Linked DNA regions of Homo sapiens: all the other regions are linked to region 1. The links are contacts of gene promoters, found by promoter capture Hi-C in blood cells and fetal thymus (Javierre and others, 2016). All regions are on one chromosome and are shown on one strand. Each heading gives the region's core, a stretch centred on a gene start or on the middle of the fragment in contact. The rest is flanking DNA. Distances are from core to core; before and after follow the strand shown. Region 1 holds the start of ATF7 (activating transcription factor 7). Region 2 overlaps CBX5 (chromobox 5). Region 3 overlaps LOC105369777 (a long non-coding RNA gene). Region 4 overlaps SPRYD3 (SPRY domain containing 3).

What was found. Contacts are between HindIII fragments. The CHiCAGO score rates a contact against its expected background, and 5 or more counts as called.
Region 2: a fragment that was not itself captured here is called in contact with the fragment with the promoter of ATF7 in region 1 in 1 of 17 cell types (M1 macrophages); the score reaches 5.1 in M1 macrophages.
Region 3: a fragment that was not itself captured here is called in contact with the fragment with the promoter of ATF7 in region 1 in 1 of 17 cell types (neutrophils); the score reaches 5.5 in neutrophils.
Region 4: a fragment that was not itself captured here is called in contact with the fragment with the promoter of ATF7 in region 1 in 1 of 17 cell types (neutrophils); the score reaches 7.0 in neutrophils.

The regions. Positions count from the first base shown.
Region 1 is chr12:53,624,410-53,627,901 of GRCh38, forward strand. ATF7 (activating transcription factor 7) reads right to left here and starts at 1,973. Exons shown (of 12, transcript NM_006856.3): 1 at 1,870-1,973. ATF7-NPFF (ATF7-NPFF readthrough) reads right to left here and starts at 1,973. Exons shown (of 15, transcript NR_159377.1): 1 at 1,870-1,973. RefSeq lists an enhancer at 1,830-1,899. The HindIII fragment of the contact is 3,816 bases long and covers 1-2,751 here.
Region 2 is chr12:54,247,832-54,251,323 of GRCh38, forward strand. The region is part of intron 3 of CBX5 (chromobox 5); the gene reads right to left. Among named protein-coding and RNA genes, the nearest start is that of SCAT2, 13 kb to the right of the region's middle. RefSeq lists a silencer at 1,175-1,374. The HindIII fragment of the contact is 5,143 bases long and covers 1-3,492 here.
Region 3 is chr12:54,191,890-54,195,381 of GRCh38, forward strand. All of the region lies in intron 2 of LOC105369777 (a long non-coding RNA gene), which reads left to right. Among named protein-coding and RNA genes, the nearest start is that of SMUG1, 4.7 kb to the left of the region's middle. The HindIII fragment of the contact is 8,187 bases long and covers 1-3,492 here.
Region 4 is chr12:53,069,210-53,072,701 of GRCh38, forward strand. All of the region lies in intron 6 of SPRYD3 (SPRY domain containing 3), which reads right to left. Among named protein-coding and RNA genes, the nearest start is that of SPRYD3, 8.4 kb to the right of the region's middle. RefSeq lists enhancers at 2,673-3,173, 3,056-3,350, 3,174-3,492. The HindIII fragment of the contact is 3,345 bases long and covers 136-3,480 here.

The DNA of each region.
Region 1 (3,492 bases), core at 723-3,222:
AAAGGAGAAGAGAAGGAATGTAAAAGCAAAATCTACGCAAGAGCAAAGAAGTTATTAATTGGCTATATTAGTCCAATTCGTTATTAAATGATACACAACTATCAAACAAAGGGCAAAGCCCTGTCCCTTTTCTGTACAGAATTAAGAACTGGTAAGACTACTTAGCAGAGCTTGCAAACTTTTCTTTAGCTTCTTTTCTTACAGACATGTTACATTTCGCAAGAGCCTCCACTTACCTTACAACTTCCATGTGTAAGTACAAATTGTGTTTGATTTCCCCAGCCCTTGGCCTAAGATATTATGACATAGCTTTAGTTTCTGAGTCTGGACACAAAGGAAAAAACTGAACATTTTTCACTTTCCTGAAATAACATGTCTATTTTATTTACACTATTTAAAAACACATTATGTAAGTTAACTAAAACAAACTGCAACCACCCATTCGACAACTCTTCGAGAATGACTGGGGAAGCCACATTTAACAAAACAAACTTCATTTTAGTATATTTCTGCTTAGAATGCCCATAAAGACTGATATCGCTACAAGAATTACACTACTGCAAAATTTTTAAACACAGGACTCATGTGAGCTTGCTGAGAAAACTCTGCACACCCCCTACACACCTGTACTTAATATGACATGACCCTCAGAGATACTAAAACACCCTCTGTTAAGCAGAAAACAAACTTTTAAAGTTAGGAAAGTAGCAACGCGGGAATCTGGGTAGGAGGTGCCCTGGGTTGTAAACACCCCAGTCAGAGAACATAACAAGCAATTCAGAGCAACATATTAAGTCCCTATGGGGCTCCAACTTGGACTGCTTAAGTCCCAAGACCACATCCTGGTGTCTGGGAAGAGTTTGGGTAATAGAAGAGAGGGAGAAGGAAAATCAGAGAAGCGATGAAAGCGTTCTATTTTTCTCCTTCTCAACCCCCATCCCAGCATCTTGGAGGCTGGTCACCAGTCTGGGTGCCATATCCACCAGAAGCCCTAAATCAATATCCCAACCACCTGATACCTAGGCTAAAGACATGTGTATATCAGCCATCTCCTTCCCAAACACCTCTTATCGCTCTCAAGGCTCATATCCTTCCAGAAGCCATGCCTTATGGCGACTCAGCTCACCCATACTGTCCTCTTAAATTAATTCACTTAATTTTCTCCAAATCCATACTTTCTCTCTGATATCATGTCCCTGATGTTCTTTTAATTAATTCAATCAAAATGCCATGACCCTCATTTCCAATAATCCACCCCATCTATCTTTTCTGCCAAACCCAACGGGGTGTTGTGTCACCAGATCAAGATCTTTGTTCTCATCTACTCATTCCTACCTCCTTCCTATTACCCTTTTCCAATTCCAAGCTCCTAATCCCACTCTTTGGGAAGCCCTGGGTTTCTAACTTAGTTTAGTATCCCTCCTCTTTCTCCCATTCCACCCCATCCCATGATCCTTCCATTAGGCTCCACTAGACTACCCTTCCCTCAGGATTCAATTCCCCTCTCCTTGCCACGCCCTGTGCCCCCCGGGGCTACTTACACCAAGTTCTCCCCACACTTCAAGCCTCTGGCCCCGCCTTCCCCCCAAAGGAAGGAGGCGGGAGTAGGGAGAGAAGGGCGGCGCTCGGCAACGTAAAAGCGATCTCCCATTAGCGCTCATCGCCGCCAATCGAGGCTTCCTTCTCTCCCATTGGTCGGCTTTGGCCTATGCCCCACCCTCTTCCTCAGACAGGGCCCGGCCACCGCCTCAGCGCCCCCGTCCAACACAGACTGGGAGGGGAGACCCCAGCCTGGAACGCTGGGACTGGCCAGAGTTGAAAGGGAGACTCCCGTCAGATCATGGACTAGCTAATGTTAAAAGGACTTACCGGCTGGTAGCTCCGTTGCCTCCCGCCTGCCCGCGCTCGGTCCTACAATCTGTCTCCAGCTCCTCCTTTCCCCCCTTGGCGGAACGGATACTTTCCTCCCGTCCGGCCAGGCGCGCTCAACTCTCGCGAGAAGTCATGGGTCCGCGGGGGAAGGGCGAGATCCGTGGGGGCTGAGTTGGAAAGCGGCCGAGAGGCGGGGGCTCCGGGAAAAGAAGGGGCCGGGCTTACTGTGGGCAGGGCTGGGGAGGGAGACTGAGCGAGTACTGTCCACACAGGTCACACGTGTTCGGCTGCAGAATCTAGCGGGAGAAAGAAAGGAAAAAGGAGAGAGGATCTTTACAGGTGCCTGTAGTGGTGGTTACTACTATCTTTCAGAGTCATCGCTTCCTTAACGGCAAAGTAATTTAAAATACCCTTAGCGCTAGAAATGAAGTCCATGTACGGACAAAGCAATCCACCCGCACAGCAATTCTAACACTACCATTTTACTAGCCCTATTGCCTTGGGTGAAAACCTTCTCTGAGTCTCTGTACAATGGGACTAACAATCTCATTTTATTCAAATAGTTGTAATGATCAAATGAGATACATGAAACTGCTTGGGGATTTTTTAAAATCACTATATTATTCAGCAAATATTTTCACAAAACGTAGGGCATACTACATGCAAAGCATTGTTCTGCAGTCGAATGCTCTATCCCTGAGCTATACCCCCCGTGCAAAGCATTGTTCTAAGCATGGGGTTAAGGAGTTACCAACCCAGGTAGAATTTATATTTGAGTGAGGAAGGGGAGACAGTTAAAAAGCCAATAAACACAAATATTTCAAATAGTGAAAAGCGCTTCAGGATAGTGAGACAGAAGGTGACTAGGAGTGGGGAAGAAGCTTTACTCCTAGTGTTTGAGAGAAGACCTCTTTGAGGAAGTAACACACCAGGAGTTGAATTATGACCTGGGAAGATTTCGGGGGAAATATCAAATGCAAAGTCTATAGTCTTACATTTATATGTCTTGTTCAAGACAAACCAGGAAAAGAAAAAAGAAAAACAAAAAACAGGCTGGGTGCAGTGGCTCACGTCTGTAATCCCAACACTGCTAGGCCGAGGCAAGAGGATCGCCTGAGCCCAGGAATTTGAGACCAGCCTGGGCAACATGGCGAAAACTCAGCTCTACGAAAAAATATAAAATTAGCCGGGCATGGTGGCCTGCACCTGTAGTAGCTATTCGGGGGGCTAAGTGGGAAGATCGCTTGAGCCCAGGAGGTTGAGGTGGCAGTGAGCCCACATCAGGCCACTGCACTCCAGCCTGGACAACAGAGTGAAACCCTGTCTCGATAAATAAATAAAATAAATAATTTTCTTAAAATTTAACGAATTGTAGTTGACTTAAAATATTATCTATGGAATCTCTGTTCTCTCCTTTTGCAGCTTTATGTTACTCAGCTTTCTGAACTTTCTGTCTAGCATCTCATCTATCCTCACAGCACCCTCTGAGAGGTAGGAAGAATCTGGGTGATTTCTCCCTAGATACCTAAAATGAAACAGATGTAAAATCTTTCTTTCTTATGTAGTGAATTGAGAAAAGTTGAGAGGAGTCTTGGCTTCCAAACTATTCTCCCCTAAAAC
Region 2 (3,492 bases), core at 381-2,880, 620 kb after region 1:
CCTGGCTAATTTTTTTTTTTTTTTTTTGAGACAGAGTCTTGCTCTGTTGCCCAGGCTGGAGTGCAGTGCCACAATCTCAGCTCACTGCAACCTCTGCCTCCTAGATTCAAGCGATTCTCCTGCCTTAGCCTCCTGAGTAGTTGGGATTACAGGTGCGTGCCACCGCACCTGGCTAATTTTTCCATTTTTAGTAGAGACAGGGGTCTCACCATTTTGGCCAGGCTGGTCTCAAACTCCTAGCCTCAGGTGATCCACCCTGCCTCGGCCTCCCAAAGTGCTGAGATTACAGATGTGAGCCATCACACCCGGCTACGCCTGGCTAATTTTTTGTATTTTTAGTCGAGACAGGGTTTCACCATGTTGACCACACTGGTCTTGAACTCCTGGCCTCAAGTGATCCACACGCCTCAGCCTCCCAAAGTGCTGGGATTACAGGCGTGAGCCACCGCACCCGGCCCAAACTAGGTAATTTGAAAAAACTTTATTATGGAAGATAATGCTAGCCTCTCTAGTGGCAACACACACACAAAAAAAAGATTTAGAGATGCCCAAATGAACTAAATCTCTACTGCCCGATTTTCATAATAAAATCTCTTTGATCTTATGTTCACCTGCTTTCCTCTGAGACATACAAAGCATTTGGGGTCCGGGTGGTCCCCAAAGATACCAAAATTCACAATTGGAAGGACATTCCACGCGTGGATCAATGAGAGATACTGACTTTTAAAAACATAGCCTCTTTTGGGGGTGCTTAAGGGGAAGAAGTTCCCAGATGTGCACACAGCTGCTCACAGCTGGAATGCTGGTGCATGGACTAAGTTGTAAATCATAACTGGCAACTGAAAACAGTTTGCTACATAGGGAGGGAAGAGGAGGCGAATGGAAGAAAAACGTTCAAGCTGCTGAAAAGGAGCCAGGGCGAAGAAAATGCTAAAATCATCATACAGGCAGTAATCTTAAATCAGGCATAATGCAAACTAACAAATTTCTTCTCCAGTGGTCTTAAGAAATAAACACAATCCCCTCCTATACCTTTAAAACATACAATCACCTATCTTTCCAGCTGTCTACCTGACAGCAGCCAGTACTGCTAAGAATGCTATCAGGGGTCCCAGATGAACATTATGATGTAAGGGACATGTGGGGGTTGTTTTCAAGGTCGGCAGCTTCAGAACCTGGCCTAGGAACAAAACTCTGTGCACTGGCCAGTGGCTCCAAGCCAGATTATTCAGACTGCTCCTTTTTAAAAATGACAGAGGCCAGGTGTGGTGGCTCATGCCTGTAATCACAGCACTTTGAGAGGCCAAGATGGGCGGATAACGAGGTCAGGAGATTGAGACCATTCTGGCTAACACGGTGAAACCCCATCTCTACTAAAAATACAAAAAATTAGCCAGGCATGGTGGCATGTGCCTGTAGTCCCAGCTACTAGGGAGGGTGAAGCAGGAGAATCGCTTGAACCCAGGAGGCAGAGGTTGCAGTGAGATTGTGCCACTGCACTCCAGCCTGGGCAACAGAGTGAGACTATGTCTCAAAAAAAAAAGAAAAAAAAAAAATTCTAATTTTACTGGTCTGGGGTGCATCTTAGGCACTGGAGATTTTTTTTTTTTTTTAACGTACCCCCCAGGTGATTATAATGTGTAGCATTGAGAACTAATGCTCTAGAAAGGTATAAATCTAATTAGAATGAAGATACATAGGGATGATTGTGGCAGCTACTCTGGAAGGCTGGAAGATTCCGAAGTAGACTTACGCTTTTATGAAATGTAAAGTGTATGATACATCCTTCACCACAAAAGGCTTCATAACCTTGAAATAAATAAAAGGAATGGAAGCTGGGGGCGGGAGGAGGTGGTAGAGTGTGTGTATTTATGCGCCCACACACAGATGAAAAGAGAGAGAGGCAATAACAGTGCTTATGCTACTTACTTGAGAGCTAAAGATCAGAAGGATTAAAGCAACTAAATCAAACCAAAATTTCATAAATACACTTCCCAAACTGAAGAAGATTCAAAAGACAAAAATTAATTTTGTACGCCAAGTATGTAGAAATAATAGATCAAGAGAATATAAATGCCACTGAACTGTACATTTTAAAATTGTTAATTGAGCCAGGCATGGTGGCTCACACCTGTAATCCCAACACTTTGGGAGGCCAAGGCAGGTGGATCACCTGAGTTAGGGAGTTCAAGACCACCCTGACCAACATGGAGAAACACCCTCTCTACTAAAAATACAAAATTAGCTGGGCATGGTGGTGCATGTCTGTAATCCCAACTACTCTGGAAGGCTGAGGCAGAAGAATCACTTGAACCCAGGAGATGGAGGGTGCAGTGAGCCAAGATCATGCCATTGAACTCCAGCCTGGGCAACAAGAGTGAAACTCCGTCTCAAAAAAATAAATAAAAAATAAAAATAAAAATACAAAAATTATCTGGCTATGGTGGCACATGCCTGTAATCCCAACTACTCAGAAGGCTGAAACAGGAGAATCACTTGAACCCAGGAGGTGAGGGTGCAGTAAGCCGAGATCACGCCCATGCACTCCAGCCTGAGTGACAGAACAAGACTCTGTCTCAAAATAAATAAATAAATAAAATATTTAATTGTATATTATATGATTTTCACTGCAAAAAAAAGATTATCAAGGATTGAAAACAAATGCTATCACTGGAACAAAAGAAAGGGCCGGGGCCGGGCGCGGTGGCTCACGCCTGTAATCCCAGCACTTTGGGAGGCCGAGGCGGGTGGATCATGAGGTCAGGAGATCGAGACCATCCTGGCTAACAAGGTGAAACCCCGTCTCTACTAAAAATACAAAAAATTAGCCGGGCGCGGTGGCGGGCGCCTGTAGTCCCAGCTACTCGGGAGGCTGAGGCAGGAGAATGGCGTGAACCCGGGAGGCAGAGCTTGCAGTGAGCCGAGATTGCGCCACTGCAGTCCGCAGTCCGGCCTGTGCGACAGAGCGAGACTCCGTCTCAAAAAAAAAAAAAAAAAAAAAAAAAAAAAAAAAGAAAGGGCCGGGCGCGGTGGCTCACGCCTGTAATCCCAACACTTTGGGAGGCCAAGGTGGATGGATCACAAGGTAAGGGGTTTGAGACCAGCCCGGCCAACATGGTGAAACCCCGTCTCTACTAAAGATACAAAAAATTAGCTGGGCATGGTGGCGTGTGCCTGTAATCCCAGCTACTTGGGAGGCTGAGGCAGGAGAACTGCTTGAACACAGGAGGTGGAAGTTCCAGTGAGCCAAGATCGCACTATTGCACTCAAGCCTGGGTGACAGAGCGATATTCTGTCTCCAAAAAAAAAGAAAAAAGGAAGTGAAATGGTAAACATTTCAAAGCCCCGGCTGGGCATGGTGGCTCACGTCTATAATCTCAACACTTTGGGAGGCCAAGGCAGGCGGATCACGAGGTCAGGAGTTCAAGACCAGCCTGACCAACATGGCGAAACCCCGTCTCTATTAAAAATACAAAAATTATCAAGACCATC
Region 3 (3,492 bases), core at 251-2,750, 570 kb after region 1:
AGAAGGTGAAGGCCATGTTTCCCCCTTCATAGATACTAAGTTTCACCCTGTTCAGCTCCCACTCACTGTTTCTGACATGGGGAGCCCCAAAGGGGGTTCTGGTGTTTAACTTTCAGTGTAGCCACCTTCCCCACTTCCACTACACTGGGTCCTGTCCCGATTAGCCCAACAAACATCAAAAGAGCATAGGACAGTGAAGACAGCATAGCAGAGGCCTCAGGACTTTGGGCTCTGGAATCAGACTGCTGCGTTTGAATCCAAGCTCTGCCACTTACTCATGGTGACCTTGGGCATGCTACTTAATTTCTCTGTGCCTCAGTTATCTCAGTTGTAAAATGGGATAATCATTGTAATCTCTATCTTCTTTTGTGATGTTTAAATGACTTAATTACATTAAGTGCTTATTACAGAATTTGGGCTCCACAAAGGGTAGTTATTGCTGTTGCTCTGCCAGGGTCTCAGGCAGATGATAGTCTGAGTACCCAAGACCCAGTCCATGAAGCCCTATCAGACACACAAGCACGGAGGACAAGACTGGGGAGCTCATCCTGTAGATTTCCCAAAGACAGTGACCTGCATGCAGGGTTAGGTTTGGAGTTGGAAGTTCAGGATTGCAAGGAAAGTAACTCTTCAGGTCTCCAAGGTCAGCAGAAGTTGGGATAAGGAGGTCACAGCAAGAAAGAACCTGAAGTAAAGATGTAGGAAGGAAATGCATTAAGGAAGAAGCATTAACAGGCCCTTTAAAGGGCCCTGATTTGGGGAAGGGAAAAGGGCTCCTTGATGTGTGAGTTAAGCAAGGGCCACTGCATCCCAAGGACATGTCCTTGGCACAGATGCAAAAGTCTCCAGACTTGATCAGATTCCCCATGCCTCCCCATTCCATCTGTGGGGACTTAACACTCCATGTCTTTTCCTCAGCCTAGTGAGGAGGGGCACTTACAAAGAGAGAAAGCTATCTGCAGGGCCCACAACCAGAGGAGCTAGGCTGTGAGTTCATCCATTTGTGTCCTTTTTTTTTTTTTTTTTTTTTTTTTGAGACAGGGTCTCACTCTGGAATGCAGTGGCATGATCATGACTCACTGCACTCTCGACCTCCTAGGCTCAAGCAGTCCTCCCGCCTCAGCCTCTCCAGTAGCTGGGACTACAGGTGCGCACCACCACACCCAGCTAATTTAAAAATTTTTTTTGTAGAGACAGGGTCTTGCTATGTTGCTCAAGCTGGTCTTGAACTGCTGGGCTCAAGTGATCTTCCCACCTCGGCCTCCCAAAATGTTGGGATTATGGGTGTAAGCCACCGCACCTGCCTGATTTGTTTCTCAACAGGTTCAGCCATCTCGCTGTCTCTGTATCTTCTATATCTCTGCCTTCATCTACCTTACAAGAAATGGGATTATTCTCCAAGGGGTGAGAATAAGGTGACAAAGTGACACCCTCTCAGTTAAGACAGAAATGCAGAGCCAGTGGGGTCCCTGGCTCAGCCTCGCTACCCTGCTACGCACACCTCAGCCCCAAGGCAGCACAACCTAGCTTTATGGATTATGCCTACTTAACTGGAGGAAGATGACAGCGTCTAGGTCTCCTCAACTCTGGTGTCCTCCATCTCCTGGGGCCTGGACGCCTGGGTCCCCAAGAGAGGAGCAGGAATAGGCTGGATGGGCTGATTTGCATCACTTACTTGGGAAGCAATTATCGGAGGAGCTGTCAGCTCAGTGCAGCTCTCTCCTCACTAATCGGATTTCACCAGAGCCCGGGGCTTGGGGGGGCCGAGTAATTTGGCTTGATGCAGTGGTGGGAGATGTCAGGGCCAGGAGGCCGGACAATCTGTCTGAGTGGTGTTAGAGTTGTCCAGAGCAATTATCCTGAGGGACCACACAGACATCAGATAGACAGACAGACAAGGGAATGGGACTGATCCCCAAGTCCTTTAGCAGGAAGGATGGAAGTGAGACTTGGAGAATGGGAGGAGCATCTCCCACAGGTTGAACCAAATTGAGCAACTAGAAGAGGATCAAGATGAGTCTGAGAGAGTGGCCATGGGACCAAGTGGGAGGACGACCCAAGAATCCTAGCTTCCAGCCTACTCAACACCGAGGCCCAGCCCTGCCTTGCCCTGCACTCCCAGGGAACCAGTCACAGAGCAGGAACTTGAACCTAGGGTGATTCTTCTGAGCTCTGCTCCTTCCCCTGCAATGTTCCCAAAAGACAATTTCCTTGCCTCTGGCCCTGGCTCTGTCATTTGCCTTCTCTTGCTCCTGCAGCCCTCTTGAACCTGTCCTTTCCTTCCCACCCATACTGCCCCTCTCATCTCTCTGGTGATCCCTCTCTCTGTCTCTGTCCTCCATTCCACATCTTTCAGAATAGTGGTAAGGGTGATAGTGACAATAACTAACCGTTAGTGAGTGCTTTGTCCACACCAGACACCACCCTGAGTGCTTTATGTGGATTGTTTCCTTTACTCCTCTCAGCAACACTTTGAGGGACATACTTTTTTTTTTCTTTTTTGAGACAGAGTTTTGCTCTGTCACCCAGGCTGGAGTGCAGTGGCACAATGTCGGCTCACTGCAACCTCCGCCTCCCAGGTTCAAGGGATTCTCCTGCCTCAGCCTCCTGAGTAGCTGGGATTACAGGCACCTGCCACCACGCCCGGCTAATTTTTATATTTTTAGAAGAGACAGGGTTTCACTATGTTGGCCAGGCTGGTCTTGAACTCCTGACCTCAGGTGATCTGCCTGCCTCAGCCTCCCAAAGTGCTGGGATTACAGGCGCAAGTAAGCCACCATGCCCAGCCTTTTTTTTTTGAGACAAAGTCTCACTGTGTTGCCCAGGCTGGAGGGAAGTGGCACAATCTTAGCTCACTGCAACCTTCACCTCCCAGACTCAAGCAATCCTCCCACCTCAGCCTCCCAAGTAGCTGGGACTACAGATGTGCACCACCACACCCTGCTAATTTTTAAATTTTTCTGTGGAGATGGGGGTCTCACTATATTGCCCAGGCTGGTCTCAAACTCCGGAGCTCAAGTGATCCTTCCACCTCAGCTTCCCAAAGTGCTGAAATTACAGGCATGAGCCACCATGTCCAGCTCAAGGATGTTCTGATAGCAGGTTGAAAAGAGCACTGAACTTTCAAGGACATTTGGAGCTGGGAGTCTGCCACTTGCCAGCAGTGTGACCTTAGGAAGCTCATGACCTCTGTGAACCTTGGGCTAATCATTTCGTTCTTCACCTGGAAGAGAGGATGACAATGCCTACTTCACGGGACACATGATGCATCCTTGTCTTATCTGCTCTGAGTCTATCAGATAAGCTGTGGGGATATGTCTGTTCTCTCCACCTTTCTACCTTACTGTTGAGCCTCTGCCTCTTTGACCCCCATTAATTCAGGCATGTAGCCCAGGAGTCCTACCACTCTGCTCCCTCACTGTCACTCACTGTCACTCAAGCATGTTGATTTTCCTGATGTTTCACCCTTTTCCAAGAAGTCCAGAGGACCAG
Region 4 (3,492 bases), core at 558-3,057, 560 kb before region 1:
CTTCGGCCTCACCTGGGATTCCTTAATCTCCTTTTAATTAGCCCAACTGCCCCTCACGACTTTCTTCTACCCTCCCACCCCTGCAGCCCTGAAGGAAACATGTTGCCTAGGGACCTCCTCCACGTCTCCCTGGCAAGCTTTGGGACGCCGGCCTCTCACCTCTCACAGATTCCTGCCTGAACAGGAAAGGAATTATGCCCACCTGCACCAGCACAGAAGCCTGTGCGTGTCTCCAGCAGAGGCTGCTCCCGCATCCCCACTCCCAGCCTCAGACGGCCGCTGCTTAGCTCAGGTGCTTAGAGCGGGGTGCTACTAACCCCTTCTGAGAGTAGGACTAGAGGGGCTTGGTGCCTTTCTCAGCCCTGGATCTCAGCCCCGCCACCTCAAGTCCATCCTTCCCTCCTCTCCAAAGATAACTGGGGATGGATGAGGGGGAAAGCAGCATGCACGGGAGACCACCTAAGCCCATCCCCAAGGCCACACTGTTTGACTTCTGTTCATGGTGTATTCTCTGCTCAGCCTGGGTTCCTCCTCTGCCTCTCTCCCCGGGAAGCCAGGAGGGGTGTGGCTTGATCCACATTAACTAGTTTAGACTCCACCCAGGCAGAGCAGCCCCCAGCCCACCCTCTCCACCCAGCATTGCAGAACTGGGTGGGGGACCCCACAGCTGCCTTTGACCCATTCTATCCAACTGGCCTCGGTGTAGGAAACACAGTGTTCTCCATTTCCAGAGCCAAAAGACAGCCGATCCAGACCCTGATCCTTGGGAAATACCCGGCCAGCCCCTCCCTTTGCCTCAGCTCAGAAGAGGGTAGCTGCTGCATTTCTGTCTCTGGATAGGGTGGAGGTGCTTTCTCACGCTAAAAGCCAGGACGGACTACCCCAACATGGGTCTTTAAAACCCACTCTCTACCTGCCAACCACAGAGCACTTCGGACAGAATGCTGATGTCCTGGACGACTAGGTACTTGTACAGTGTATAGGTGAGGCTTGTACAGCGTGCCCTCTTCAGAGGGGACCGCCCAGCCCTCACAGTGAAAGCCATCATAAACCTCCTGATCCACTCTCCTGCTCCTGGACAAAGCTCCCCCGACCCCTCCTGAGCCTTCCCAGAGAACTCAGAGGGGTGGAAGTGGGGGGAATATTTGGCCTCCCTGACAGATTCTTTCTTGAGTACATTCCTCTGCCTCCTTGGTCTATAGCTGTTAGGAACCTAGAGGAGGAGTGAAGGTTAACCCTTAGAGTCTGAACTGTTAGGATCTTGATGCTGGTCCCTCAACCTGTACCTCAGAATCCAACAGACCTGGGTTCAAATCCTAACTCCTATTACTTAACAGCCGCTAACCTCAGGCAAATGACATTCACCTCCTTAAGCCTTGGTTTCTTCAACAGTAAACTGGGATAAGATTACCTGAATTTCCAAAAACAAGTGGGAAGACTTAATGAAGTGACCAATACACATTGCTGCCTCTCCCTAAATCAGTGTAAATGGGGTTACGTTGGAATTGCCGATCACAAAGAAGGAAATGATCTTTCATCTTAGCCCTTACTTCCAACTACAATGGTCCCTTAGGCCAACCAGGACGATGGCCACTCCCCAGACAACTCTACCCTATGTGTCTCCTCTCAAACAATGTCCAATCAACAGAAATGTTTCTCTGCATTTTTGGTGGGGGAAGATGGAGCCCTTTCTTTGGGTCTCCCCCTAATACACACATACCACCAAAGCCCCAAGAAGCCAAAGACATGACTCAGTGCCACAGAGTGGCGGCTGCAGACCAGAGTGTGGACAGTCTCGTGCACTCCACACCCTCCCTCTACCAGTAGCACCTTCCCAGCCTCTTCTCCCCTGCCGGTATCCGCCCTCCTCCCCTTGCCAGCAGAGACCCTAATCCCTCTTGACAGGAGCAAGGAAGGGCTCAGTGCCCTGAGGGCCCAGAAGCAACTGAAACAGGAACCAAGTACACACTCTCCTGGCCAGCTCAGGCTCCAGCACAGCCTCCCTCTGGGCTGGGTCTGGGGAGGACCCCTGGGAGGGCGGGGCCTCATTCACCACCCTGTGTGTACCAAAGCTGTTGCCCCTGTCACTAAGGAGTTGTCAGAGGAGCTGTGAACAGGGCACAAACACAGAATGAGTCTAATCCCCCAGCTGTTACCTACCGCCCCCAGCTCCCCTCCACCACATTACCTCACTTTGCGAGGCCTGGAGGCAGGGATGAGGTGAGAGGCAAGTGCCCCAGCAATTCCTCAACCCCTCAGAGCTCTGAGGAGGTAGACTCTTTAGGAGGGGGAAACAGGCCACAGGAGGCAGGGGAAGAATTCCACTCAAGAAAGAGCCAGGTCTGTCTATATCCAAAGACTCAAATCTAACAACTGTTGAGGCCCAGGGCAGTGGCTCATGCCTCTAATCCCAGCAATTTGGGAGGCCAAGGTGGGAGGATCCCTTGAGCCTGGGAGTTGGAGGCTGAAGTGAACCAGCACTCCAGTCTGGGTGACAGAGTGATAGCCTGTCTTAAAAAAAAAAAAAAAAAAAAAAGGAAAGTTGGCATGACTGGAAAAAGGCACATGTCCCTCAGGAAGCTCACATCCAAGTTGGCCCCAGAGGAACGGGTGCCCCAGGAGTAGTGCTCCCACCCTGCCACCTGGCCCAAGCTGGGGTGAGGGTCTGAGAGAAGGGCCCAATTCAACAGCTTATGTCTAAAAAAGAAAAACACTCTTAAATAAGTGGCTGAAGGTGTTGGGGGGAGGGTGGGGAGGAAGGAAGGCTATTTATAAATGTCTACAGGATTCTGCATCAATTAGAAAAGATTGCCTGGGAGGAGCTGAGAGCAGAGTGGGGACAGGTCCAGGCAGAGAAAGGATGCCAGGAAAAAACTCTTGAGGAGAGGTCAGAGATGAGAGCTGGAACATCGCCCTGGCGCAGCCCCAAGTTTAACTCTGTAGATGTTGTCAGAATGATGGTAGATTGAGGGGAAAAAGGAAAGACATGAGAGTCACGGAGTGGGCATCTGAGGCCTCTTAGCTCTCGGTCGCTGCAGCCTGGGACCCTGATGCCAGACGGGGGTGCAGAGTGTCAGAAGCAGCAGGAGGGCACACTTCCTGTCATTTTCCCTGAGTTCCACTCCACCAGGGGGAGGCCTGGCTCCTAATCCGCTCCCACCCCCCACTGCTTCTGTTTTGTTATCAAAGACTGAGTTGAAAACAGCCTGGGTTGGGGTGGAAAGGCCAGAGGGTGGAGAAAAAGGCCAGGCCAGGAGCAAGGGGGTAGGAGAGGGACAATTCGAAGTGGGAGGGCTGAGCAGCCCACTAGAGGTCAGGGCCAGATCCCGGACTTGGCGTCCATTCACTCCCAATGCAGCACAGTGTATTGAGGCAGACAGGAAGAATTTTCCTTTCTCAAGGTTCATGAATTTTCCAACAAAACTTAAAATCCGGGGAGGAAGAATTCCCCTTTCTCAAGCTCCACACGCTTCCCAACGAAGCTTAAAATCC